Linked DNA regions of Homo sapiens: all the other regions are linked to region 4. Evidence: promoter capture Hi-C in 16 types of primary human blood cells and fetal thymus (Javierre and others, 2016). All regions are on one chromosome and are shown on one strand. Each heading gives the region's core, a stretch centred on a gene start or on the middle of the fragment in contact. The rest is flanking DNA. Distances are from core to core; before and after follow the strand shown.

Region 1 (2,700 bases), core at 170-2,669, 290 kb before region 4:
GAGAGCCTGGGCCAGAGCCTTCACTGTGTTTTCCATGGGAAAAGCAAGACAGGGCAGGATAAACAGCTTAGGACTGGCTACTTGGAATAAGTCTGATGGCTTTGGAGCATAGGGACTGTCCCTAGTTGTCTGGTGCCTGGCCCTGGGGTGATTTAGGGAAGAGGGAATATTGGCTCCATGTGTAAGAATTCCATAAAAGAGATGGTGGGGGGCGTGGACTCTGGATTGGTGTTTTTGCATTTAAAAAAAGAGTGCTCTTGGGCAAGCCCCCTTGCTTTCTGTAAGAACTGGCTATGCCTGGGAGGTGCAGTCTCTCCCCAGTCAAATGCCAGAGCATCAGGAACACAGAAAACAAGAAAAGATAGTTAATACAACTGGCCCTGTGATGAATGGATGCCAAATAGACACAGACTCTAAGAAAACAAAGCTGTTACAACCACAACCCAGTTAAAAGAGGCCAGTATACTCAGACTCGTAACTCAGACATTCTCTACCAGGAGGCATGATGGGCTGGGAGCTGGGGGATAGTGAGAAAATAGAGAAAGGCAGGGCCGAGGGAGGGTCCATTGTTCAAATGACACCGAAAAAACAGCAGAAAATTGTAAGACCTACTCTGTGCTGAGAAAATACAGGGCACCTTAGATATATTGTCTCTAACAATCAAACCCTTTGAAACACATATTAGTATCACCATTTTACGGATGAGAAAAATGAAGCTGGGAGGGGTAAGTATCCTGCCCCTATGGTCATCTGGCCAGTCAGTGGTGGAAGTAGACGTTAAACCTCAGTCTTTTTGACTCCAAAGACACTGTTTTAACTTTAAAGTCTAATTTCTCTGAAATCTGGGCTTGAACCTGGGCAGATGCTAATCTCCAAAGAAATCAGTTTTAGTAAGTGGGGGGCAATGAAGAGGGCTCTAAGCAGTGGGAGTTTCAGGTCAGAGCAAAGCTGCAAAATTCCAAGTAAAGCTTCCAAACAAGTAAGTGGATGTGGCTGAGACCTTCACAAGGACCTCAGGGAGGATGTCATTCCAACTTGACCAGGGCACCAGCAATGGATGAGGGCTGCAGCCTGACAGCACCCGAATGTGAAGATTCAGCCACTTGTACCGCATCCTGGGCCTCACTGCTCCAAATTCCCACCAAGGTGGGCCTGAGCCAACCTCCATCAGGTTGGAGATGATTGAGATTGAGAGGCTCTGGCTGTGCCTTCAAATGGGAGGGGCAGGGGGCAGACAGCACTGACACAGAGGACCATAAAATGTATCTAGCAGAGCAGGAGAGCTCCATCTGGAGGTCAGGCGAAGTAGTACAATTGTGCACTATCTTTTCTCAGCGCTTCCAGTGTTAATCATGATCTGGGGGCAGCTGAGCAGATCTCATGTATTCAGCAATTATTTATTGAGCACCAAGCAGCATATCATATTTTAGTTTCCAAAAACCCTAAGACAAAGACTTAGGGGGCACATTATTTATATGCATAAAGCAGGGAGTAGGGACAGAAAAAGGATAATAAAGCTAAAAAAAAGGTGTGTTATTGAGTGGTTGGCACTGTGGGCAACTGATGCTCAGTCCCTCTGAGGACCCTGAGAGTTCCTCAGAACACCCCTCAGAATTGTCCCATCAGCAGAGGAGAGGCTGTGTCTTCACTGACTGAGGGTTTCCTGGGTGGCTTTCCATCACCAGCCCTTCTTGGCAGCCCACACACTGAATAAACTTTCCTGTAGTTCCAGAGAAAGGGACACAGGCAACTCAGGGGGTGGCTGTCAGTGTGATGGCATATTAGTCTGTTTTCACGCTGCTAATAAACACATACCTGAGACTGGGCAATTTACAAAAGAGAAAGGTTTAATACAGTTCTACGTGCCTGGGGAAGCTTCACAATCATGGCAGAAGGCAAGGAGGAGCAAGTCCCGTCTTACATGGATGGCAGCAGGCAAAGGAGAATGAGGAAGATGCAAAAGCAGAAAACCCTGATAAACCACCAGATCTTGTAAGACTTGTTCACTACCATGAGAACGATATGAGGGAAACCGCCCCCGTGATTCCACCGGGTCCCTCCCACAACACATGGGAATTATGGGAGTACAATCCAAGATGAGATTTGGGTGGGGACACAGCCAAACCATATCAGATGGAAACTTCCCACTGCAGCTTCAAGTGAGCTCAGAGGTGGATTGAGAGCCCTGGAGCAGGGCAACAGCAGTTTCTGATCCCCTAAGACCTCTCGGAGACTGTTCTCCCACAGTGGACTCTATAGCTACTCGCCTGCTCTGCAACCTCCTGGGCCTAAGCTCAGGGCTCCTCTGTCTGAGTGGTCATCCCCTACTCAAATTCAGGAGTGAGCTCAGACAACTCTTCCTCTAAAATATGCTTTGTGAGCATAAAATCTGAGGCAGGAGTGTGCCTCTGCACCTCTGGCTATCTCTAGAGGCACCTGGATAGTGGTTACAGGCCTGAGCTTACAGCTCCGTGTCACACTGGGCTTGAAGATAGTAAGTCATGGCCCTTATCTTCAAGGGACTTAAAGTCTCAAAGACAAGAAGACCACAACTCTCTCTAGGCTGTGAGCATTCCCAAGAGTTCTTAAGGCTTCACTTATGAATGTGCTTTCTGAGAAATAAAAAAGAGCAACATTCTATGCACTCAGCTCCACTGTAGATCCTAAATTAGTCATAGGATCCCCAACAGACCACCTACC
Region 2 (2,700 bases), core at 179-2,678, 450 kb before region 4:
AAAAAGAGAACATAGCCAAGGAGCATGAATGGCTTAAAGGAACACTGAAGAAAAGGAATTTGGTTGCTAGCATGCAGTTAGGAGTGATTTGTGCATTGCTACCTAACCCTCATCCCCATTAAGCCAAACAAGCACTCACGTGGGTCTTGTGTGGGTAGATATTTTTGGTGGAAATCAGTGAAGGAAGAGGTTCAATTTGAAACAGAACAAGGATACACTTTGCTGAGCATTGTGACAAAACTGTCACAACCAATTACCCAATGAATATATGGGCAGCGGGAGATTTAGAGATGATTGGAAAAGGCTTAAACTATCCCATCCTGCCCCACCCTTCAAATCCCTTCAGAGATGGGAAAAGATAAATAACCCTTGCAGTATACAGAATTAGATTTAAGTCTTTTCACTTGAATTTCAAAAGACAACCCACTTCAGCTGATGTATGGGTTCAAAACAAGAGCTCAGCCAAAAGAAAGTAAATTAAATTTTCTTTAAACATGATGTTTGAAGGTTCTCCAAAAGCTTGCAGTTTTTCTCTATTTTCTGAGCTCAGCTGGTGGGAGACACAGGATGGCCTCTATCCAGGATACTCCAAAAGTCTCAATGATTGGATATGACCCCTTGTGTCAGTCAGGTTTCTCTAGACGGACAGAACTAATAGGATATTTGTATATATGAAAGGGAGTTTATGAAGGAGAATTGACTCACCTGATCACAAGGTGAAGTCCCACAATAGGCCGTCTGCAAGCTGGGGAGCGAGGAAGCCAGTGGTGGATCAGTCCAAGTGCCAACACCTCAAAAGTGGACAAGCTGACAGTGCAGCCTTCAGTCTGTGGCCGAAGGCCCAAGAGCCCCTGGCAAACCCCTGGTGTAAGTCCAAGAGTCCAAAAGCCAAAGAACTTGGAGTCTGATGTTGGAGTGCAGGAAGCATCCAGCACGGGAGAAAGATGGAGGCCTGAAGACTCAGCAAATCGGCTTCTTCCACCTTCTTCTGCCTGCTTTTCCTAGCTACGTGGGCAGCCGATGGGATGGTGTCCACCCACATTGTTCGTGGGTGTTCATCTCCCAGTCTACGGATTTAAATGTTAATCTCTTCTGGCCATACCCAGAAACACCCAGATACATCCAGAAACAATACTTTGCATCCTTCAATCCAATCAAGTTGACACTTAATATTAACCATCGCAATCTTATAATCAGAACAATATCACAGGGATGAAAGGAAGAAAGTGAAGTCCTATTTTCTTGGAAAAACTTAGGGTCAAAGCCAGCGAAGCTGGGATCAAAAAAGAGATACAACCCTCAGGCAAGAAACGAAGCAGGAGCTGGAACTGAACAAGAAGCACCTGGGTAATCAGAGCACCTGGAGAGGAAGAGGCTTGGGCTTACATTTGCTGATGTCTGGGAGGTTCCAGCTGACCTGAAGTTCAGGTTAAAGGAAATAGCTGCAATCTATGATGAAATCCCCATCACCCACTAATAAACATCAAGTGTTCCTATGCGGGCCCTCCAATATCAAGTAACAATGTGTGCTAAATACATCAGCCCCCGTACTTCCTTGCTGTTTTGTAGAAAGATTGGTGTACTTTCCTCCTACCAAAGTCATCTTACAGATAAATTAATTCTGCTGTTTTTAAACTGCCTTTATCTCCATGGTCTTGGCATTTACGTGCCACATTTTTTTCGGTTGTATGTTAATGTGATATTTGTCCATTAAAATTCTGAAAGTCTTTAAAATGAGAGGAAGAAAAAACTTCCCGGATGTTCAGCCTAATATACCTTTCTGGGTGATCTCTGCCTTTCATTGTCTTTTAATTTTTTTTTTTTCTTTTGAGCCAGAGTCTTGCTCTGTCACCCAGGCTGCAGTGCAGTGGCACCATCTCAGCTCACTGCAACCTCCTCCTCCCAGGTTCAAGCGATTCTCCTGCCTCCGCCTCCCAAGTGGCTGGGATTACAGGCGTGTGCCACCATGCTCAGCTAATTTTTGTATGTTTAGCGGAGACAGGGTTTCACGATGTTGGCCAGGCTGGTCACGAACTCCTGACCTCAAGTGATCTGCCCGCCTTGGCCTCCCAAAGTGCTGGGATTGAGCCACCATGTGAGCCACCACGCCCAGCCTCATTGTCTTTGAATCCTTCTACTACTCTGTAAATTGTAGAAAGCTGAGTCATGCAAATATTTGTGACCAGATCAATGCAAATGAATTGTGTCCCATAGAATGCAATTGCTCTGTGGATACTTATCAGTTTGTATCTATTAAGAAAATTTATTTCTGCATTCCTGGTTGCCTCAGAGTAGACACTCAAAAATGTTTGTTGACTGAATAAATGATATATGAATGAAGCTTAAAATAGAAACCATAAGAACCCTCCAATTAAAGTGTACCATTCTTATAGGTAAGGTGGGATTCATAGCACACCGCTCATCTTTCAGCTGCCAAGGAGCCTTGTCCACAATGCCTCTAGGCCCTTCAGCCTCTACAGGTTCAGCTACTCACTACTTAATGCTCACTCAAATATAGTCTCAAATGAGGGCACTCCCACTTGCTGTCTTTTTTTCCCCCTCCAGTCCTTGAGATACCATGCATGGGTGGGATCTTTGATCTTCTGCTGAATAAAGGCAGCAGACTACCTAGAAAGGAAACTGCAGAGTTACAATAGGTACACCTCACCATGGAACACTATACATCAATTACAGAGAGAA
Region 3 (2,700 bases), core at 189-2,688, 440 kb before region 4:
GAGGTTGGAGTGAGCCGAGATCACGCCACTATATTCCACAGCCTGGGTGACAGAGCAAGACTGTCTCAAAAAAAAAAAGATAATAAAATAAAAATAAGTAAATAAATACCTGATACTGGGTAATTTATTTTAAAAAGAGGTTTATTAGCCTCACGTTTCTGCAGGCTGTACAAGAAGCATGGCTCCAGAACTTGGTTGGTTTCCAGTGAGAGCCTCCAGAACTTGCTTGGTTTCCAGTGACAGCCTCAGGAAGCTTTTACTTATAGCAGAAGGCAAGGGGAGCAGGTGTGTCACATGGCAAGAGAGGAAGCAAGAGAGAAGGGAGGGGGTGCCAGGCTTGTTTTTAACAATCAGTGAACTAATAGAGTAAGAACTCCCTCATTACTGTGAGAAAGTCACTAAGCTATTCATGAGTGTCTGCCCCATGACTCAAACACCTCCCGCAAAGGGCGCACCTCCAACACTGGGGATCAAATTTCAACATGAGATTTGGAAGGGACAAACATCCAAACTATATCAGCACATGTGGCCAGTCATGAGTTTTTGTTTTGGCATGTTGCCTCTCATCTGCCAGAATCCCTAGAATCTCATCTGCCAGAATCCCCAGGTAATCATCCTGTCCAAAAGCCTATTGGGTCCTTGCCACATTTCAGTCAATGTGTCTGGTCAAGGGATAAGGTCAAGGTTGGCAGGGAGTCATGTGCTGCCGATCCCTAGTCTGGTTCTTTGTTTAAAACTCCCACCAGCTCCTTTGGTTTCCCTTACCTCAACCACCACCATGTACCCAAATCTATGTGCCAAATAGGTTTTAAAGCCCCCTGATCATAAACCTTAAAAAGTAAGCCTTTCTATGCACATGTTGAACTGCTTCATGTTGAACTGCCCTCCCCACTTCATTTATCCCATCTGATTGCAGTCTGCTTCCCCCTCCTTGCTACTAGCCTGACCGGGTCATTCATCAGTTCTTGTGCTTCTTTCTCTTTAGAGATGTGGTGCTTCTTCTACTCTTCCAGGTTCAACTCTGACTCCCCTCCAACTGTCCTGGGTGAAACCCCCTCCCTTGCTGACTCATCCCCAAGGCCCTCCCACTCCAGGCCACCCTCACAGATGCTTATCTGCCTGGGCTGGTTCTTAAAATCCATAATCAACGGCCAGATAATTTAATCCTACAAAGTGATTGGCAAATGTGACAGTCCAGGTCCTCCCAGGGACAGGTAACAAGACAGGGTTAAACATGTAAGGACTGTATTGGAGAAATGCCTGTGTAAGAGAGAAAATGATGGGAGCTGGGAAGGTTAGGAGGTCATCAGAACATGATAAGAATCTGACTCAAGCGAAGGAGAGAGGGAGAGGAGGTTGGGGGTAGGGGAAACATCACAGACTGCCTGTCATGCAGTCAAAAGAGGGTTCAGCAAAGCCATCGCGGAGTCCTTGAGAAAAAGCTGCTCACCCAGAGGGATCCCTTAGTCTACTTAGTGTCTGCACCAGGCTCTTCCTTGCCAGGAGCTACCCATGGGAGACACAGCCTTGGTACAAACACCACAGTGGATTTCAAAGCCCAGCAGCTGACTCTGCTGTCTGTGGTGGGGGGTCTGGAGGCAATGCTCATGGCCACCATGGTAGGCCACTTCATGCCAGATGGAAAGGTTGTCATGGGGGAGTCTATTCATTTATTCAGCAAATCATGTATGGAGCATCTCTATGCCAGGTGCTGTGCTAAGATTAAAAATCAAGGCCAGTTTTCTATGCCAGGCTACAAAATAGATTTTTCTGGGGTAGCTGCTCACTGATACTCTCATCAACCTCCTGAAAAAAATGTGCATTACTCCAAGGCCACTAGGATTTGCCCTCTCTTTCTTTAACCTCTGTGAAAGACAATCCTGCTTAGGAGTACAGAACATGGGCTATTTGATAGAGTGATACAGCAAGGTGGCTTGCATTGGGATGCAGTGGTTTCAGAGCAATTCCATGTCACTCAGAGGATCCCTGGGAAGTGACTCAGGAACATCCTTTGGAATCAAGAGGAAGCCAGTTGGGTTGGACTCCAGATCTACCAACATCACATTAACCAGAATAATTGTCCATTTAATATTTCATATCCTACAATTACAAATAGAAACTATTTTTTTAAAAGAGCATAACACTTTTAGAATTTTAAAGTCCAATTTGCAATGGAGTCAGATGACTCCTTTCTATTTTCCTAGAACTTAGCACAGTGCCTTACATACATTGGCAGTTAGTAATGTTAATACATAAACAAATTAGTGAATGAATGAAGTTAACCCAGTGAATCTGTTCCCAGAATGGCTCTTTTAGACAGTTACTATGTTTCCATTTTGCTGATCACAACTTGATATTCTCAGAGTTTCTATTAACTGGTCATGACAAGAGATTACCCAGAGTGGATACTGAGCTTCAGATCCAGGACATCTGAGTCCAAACTTAGAGCCCTTTGTACTGCACTCCTCTGTAGAGACTGTGTGTTCTAGAGCCTTCTTCAAAATCCCCCACTATATCCATGCAGTGTCTAACTGCAGGCAATATAAGGTTCTAGCATTTCTATCTTTTCATCATTTCTCCCCATTGGCCATTAGCAACAGCTACTCTCCATTCCCAGATACCAGCAAGCTTAAAAATAATCTCCCCTCTGCCTATTTCCACATTCTTCAGAAGGTTTTTAAATGCTTAGAGGATATGTGC
Region 4 (2,783 bases), core at 161-2,660:
TCCCAGCACTTTGGGAGGCCCAAGTGGGTGGATCACCTGAGGTCAGGAGTTCGAGACCAGCCTGGCCAAAATGGTGAAACCCCGTCTTTGTATTTTTGAAAAATACAAAAATTAGCCTGGCATGGTGGCGGTCGCCTGTAATCCCAGCTACTCGGGAGGTTGTGGCAGGGGAATCGCTTGAACCAGGAGGCTGAGGTTGCAGTGAGCCGAGGCTGCGCCACTGCACTCCAGCCTGGGCGAGAGAGTGAGACTCCGTCTCAAAAATTAAAAAAAAAAATCCAGTTGGAGAATCAAAAATTTTTAAAAATTTGACTGTGTAATCCTACAAGAAGTAAGTAGCTTGAGAAAGAGAAATGCTGATAAAGTCGCATTAAGTTTCAGAGTTGAAATTCAAGCTCCTGTATCTAACATGTTTCCCTGTTTAAGGTAGAATTTAAAAAAAAACTATATATGACATATATATGTCAACCCAAAAAAATAAAGCAGTATATATTATATATATAAGAATATATATATATTCTCCTTTATATGTTTTTTGTTTCACATATATATATAAATATATATCTCAACCACAAAAAAATTTGGTTTGTGACAAAGATGCACTTATTTGCACGAACCTATCTTGTTAATGATCAAGAAATCTGCTTTGTTACAATCATTAGAGGACAGAAATATACATACATATTTAAATCTATTTAATGAAATGCAGTTTTATGTTAAAAATCAATGATCTGCTAACCTAAAGAGTCGCACAGGAATACTATGATTATTAAACACAATGCGATTCTCTAAATAAGTAAACACGTGCAATGATATCAAAGTTCAAAATTCTCTAATTCTTCCACAAAGACTATGAAAATCACCTTGGAGTGTATGAACCAGCGTCCTGGCCCCGCCAGGTCGGGGCTGGGGCGGGCGCGGGCCGGGAGCGCTTACCCCGCGGCAGGAGCGATTCAGCGCCACTACCTGCTTCGCCTGGTTGTGGTGTGGCTGCTGCGCCAACCGAAAGGCCTCCTTAATCCGCAGCAGTCTCTTTTCGCTCCCATGGCTCTGGGACTCTGTCCGGACTAGCCCTGTCCGCGCTCGGCTACATCCGGCCCGCCCACCAGCTCAGAGGCAGAGTTCTCCGCGGTGTCTCCTAGGGTTTCTTGTCAGAGGGCCCCAGGCGCCTAGGGAGTCGTTACCGCCCTGGCATTCAAATAACTCCCGCGAGAGGCGGAAATCCCGCGAGACTGCCGACAGAGCGTAGGGAAGTGGAAAAGTGGAGCCTGCACCGCCCGCTCCCGGCACCCCCGGACACCGCCCCGGTCTCACGCATGCGCAGAGGGCCGATCCAGTTCTTTTCGGCTGGAATGGGGAATTTGTGAGGTAGGCCGGAAGTGGTGTTGCGGAGGGAAGTGTGGGGAGAGCAGAGGCGCAGCTCTGCTGGAGAGACCTGAGGCTTGCAGCGCTGGGCCCGGCCGGGTCGCTGCGGCTGGGCTGGAGGTGAGGCGAAAGAAGGGCATCCTCTGATGGGAGTGGACCGGAGTCCGCTAAAGCGAAGCATTCCAGGGTTCGTTGCGGGAAATACAGTCTGGTTTTGCCCCCCGTATGAATTGAGGGAAGGTGAGAGCAGAAGCAATCCGGGCCTGAAGGGCGATTATTCTAGGGTCGGCCGAGGGGTTCAGGCCAAAGTTCATTGAAATCCTAGCTGGGTCCCTGGAGGACGAGAAAACCGGTCAGGAGTCTCCTGGGAAGAGGGTCATGTTTTAATCTAGCTAAAGCTGGTACCTGGCAGTTTCCACTCTTAAGGCCTAGTGTACTAACTAATGTGTGCGCAATGTCAAAACAGGAAACAAAGGGAAATGCAAGAGGTGGAAGGTAATTTTAAGTTAGTGGCAGTATGACAGATTTCCAGTGCCTTCAGGAAGGTATCCAGCCTTAAAGATGCTTTTTTTAAATAGACGATTTTAGACAGAAAAAAGGTAGAAACAAAACTATAACACATGTGTACTCACCACTGAATTGGAGAAATAAATGATTATATAAGTGATTGAAGTCCTTTGTCAGCTCTACCCCGTCTCATTCTCTTTCCTTTTGCCTAAGGAAACCACTCTCCTAACCACCTTTATGCAATCTGTAATGTGTACATCTTTTTGCAGCTAGCTTGTTTTACATAATGTTTTTGAGATTTGTCAGTGTTGTGTAACTCCACCTTATTCATCTTAATAGCTGAACAGATATTCTGTTATTTTAATATGTCACTGTTCATTGTTTAGTATCTCCAGTGCCTGACATACTTTAGGCACTGTAGGTAGCTAAATGTTAGTTGAATGCATGGCTGCTGTAGCATTTGAACTAAGTAGAAAAGAATAAATAGGACTTCATGTGACCCAACAAGAGTATTCCAGGCAAAAGGAATACTAGCCAAAAGCAGAGACATGAAAGTGCATGAACTATTTCAAGAATTTCCATACTTTTAGTACTGAAATGTAGAATGTATGGAGATCATGTGATGAAGGAGAAACCTGGAAAGATGAGGCTTAAGCTTAAAGGATATTATCCTGAAGAGCTTACACAAGCTCGGCGCCATTAAATGCTTTTCCAGTTATGAGGAAGCTGATTAGAGCTGTATTTTCAGAAGATGATACAGCGCACTAGAGATATATCTTAGGATATAAAAGATTAGTGACGGGGAATTTTAGACTATCAAGCATTGTAACAATAACAATCATTGCATTAAGCAAGTAAGACAACCAGCCAGACTAAAAATCCAAAAACATTTTCCTAGTCCATCATATTAT

Evidence for each region. Contacts are between HindIII fragments. The CHiCAGO score rates a contact against its expected background, and 5 or more counts as called.
Region 1: a fragment that was not itself captured here is called in contact with the fragment with the promoter of FAM200B in region 4 in 1 of 17 cell types (non-activated CD4 T cells); the score reaches 5.6 in non-activated CD4 T cells.
Region 2: a fragment that was not itself captured here is called in contact with the fragment with the promoter of FAM200B in region 4 in 11 of 17 cell types (naive CD4 T cells, fetal thymus, activated CD4 T cells and 8 more); the score reaches 10.5 in naive CD4 T cells.
Region 3: a fragment that was not itself captured here is called in contact with the fragment with the promoter of FAM200B in region 4 in 1 of 17 cell types (naive B cells); the score reaches 5.9 in naive B cells.

The regions. Positions count from the first base shown.
Region 1 is chr4:15,395,112-15,397,811 of GRCh38, forward strand. All of the region lies in intron 1 of C1QTNF7-AS1 (C1QTNF7 antisense RNA 1), which reads right to left. It also overlaps a transcript of C1QTNF7 not described here. Among named protein-coding and RNA genes, the nearest start is that of C1QTNF7-AS1, 31 kb to the right of the region's middle. The HindIII fragment of the contact is 907 bases long and covers 967-1,873 here.
Region 2 is chr4:15,227,143-15,229,842 of GRCh38, forward strand. The region is part of intron 2 of C1QTNF7-AS1 (C1QTNF7 antisense RNA 1); the gene reads right to left. Among named protein-coding and RNA genes, the nearest start is that of C1QTNF7-AS1, 200 kb to the right of the region's middle. The HindIII fragment of the contact is 1,822 bases long and covers 518-2,339 here.
Region 3 is chr4:15,244,129-15,246,828 of GRCh38, forward strand. All of the region lies in intron 2 of C1QTNF7-AS1 (C1QTNF7 antisense RNA 1), which reads right to left. Among named protein-coding and RNA genes, the nearest start is that of C1QTNF7-AS1, 180 kb to the right of the region's middle. The HindIII fragment of the contact is 2,375 bases long and covers 252-2,626 here.
Region 4 is chr4:15,680,417-15,683,199 of GRCh38, forward strand. FAM200B (family with sequence similarity 200 member B) reads left to right here and starts at 1,411. Exons shown (of 2, transcript NM_001145191.2): 1 at 1,411-1,485. It also overlaps a transcript of FBXL5 not described here. RefSeq lists enhancers at 911-1,210, 1,381-1,620, 1,631-1,680. The HindIII fragment of the contact is 4,207 bases long and covers 1-2,525 here.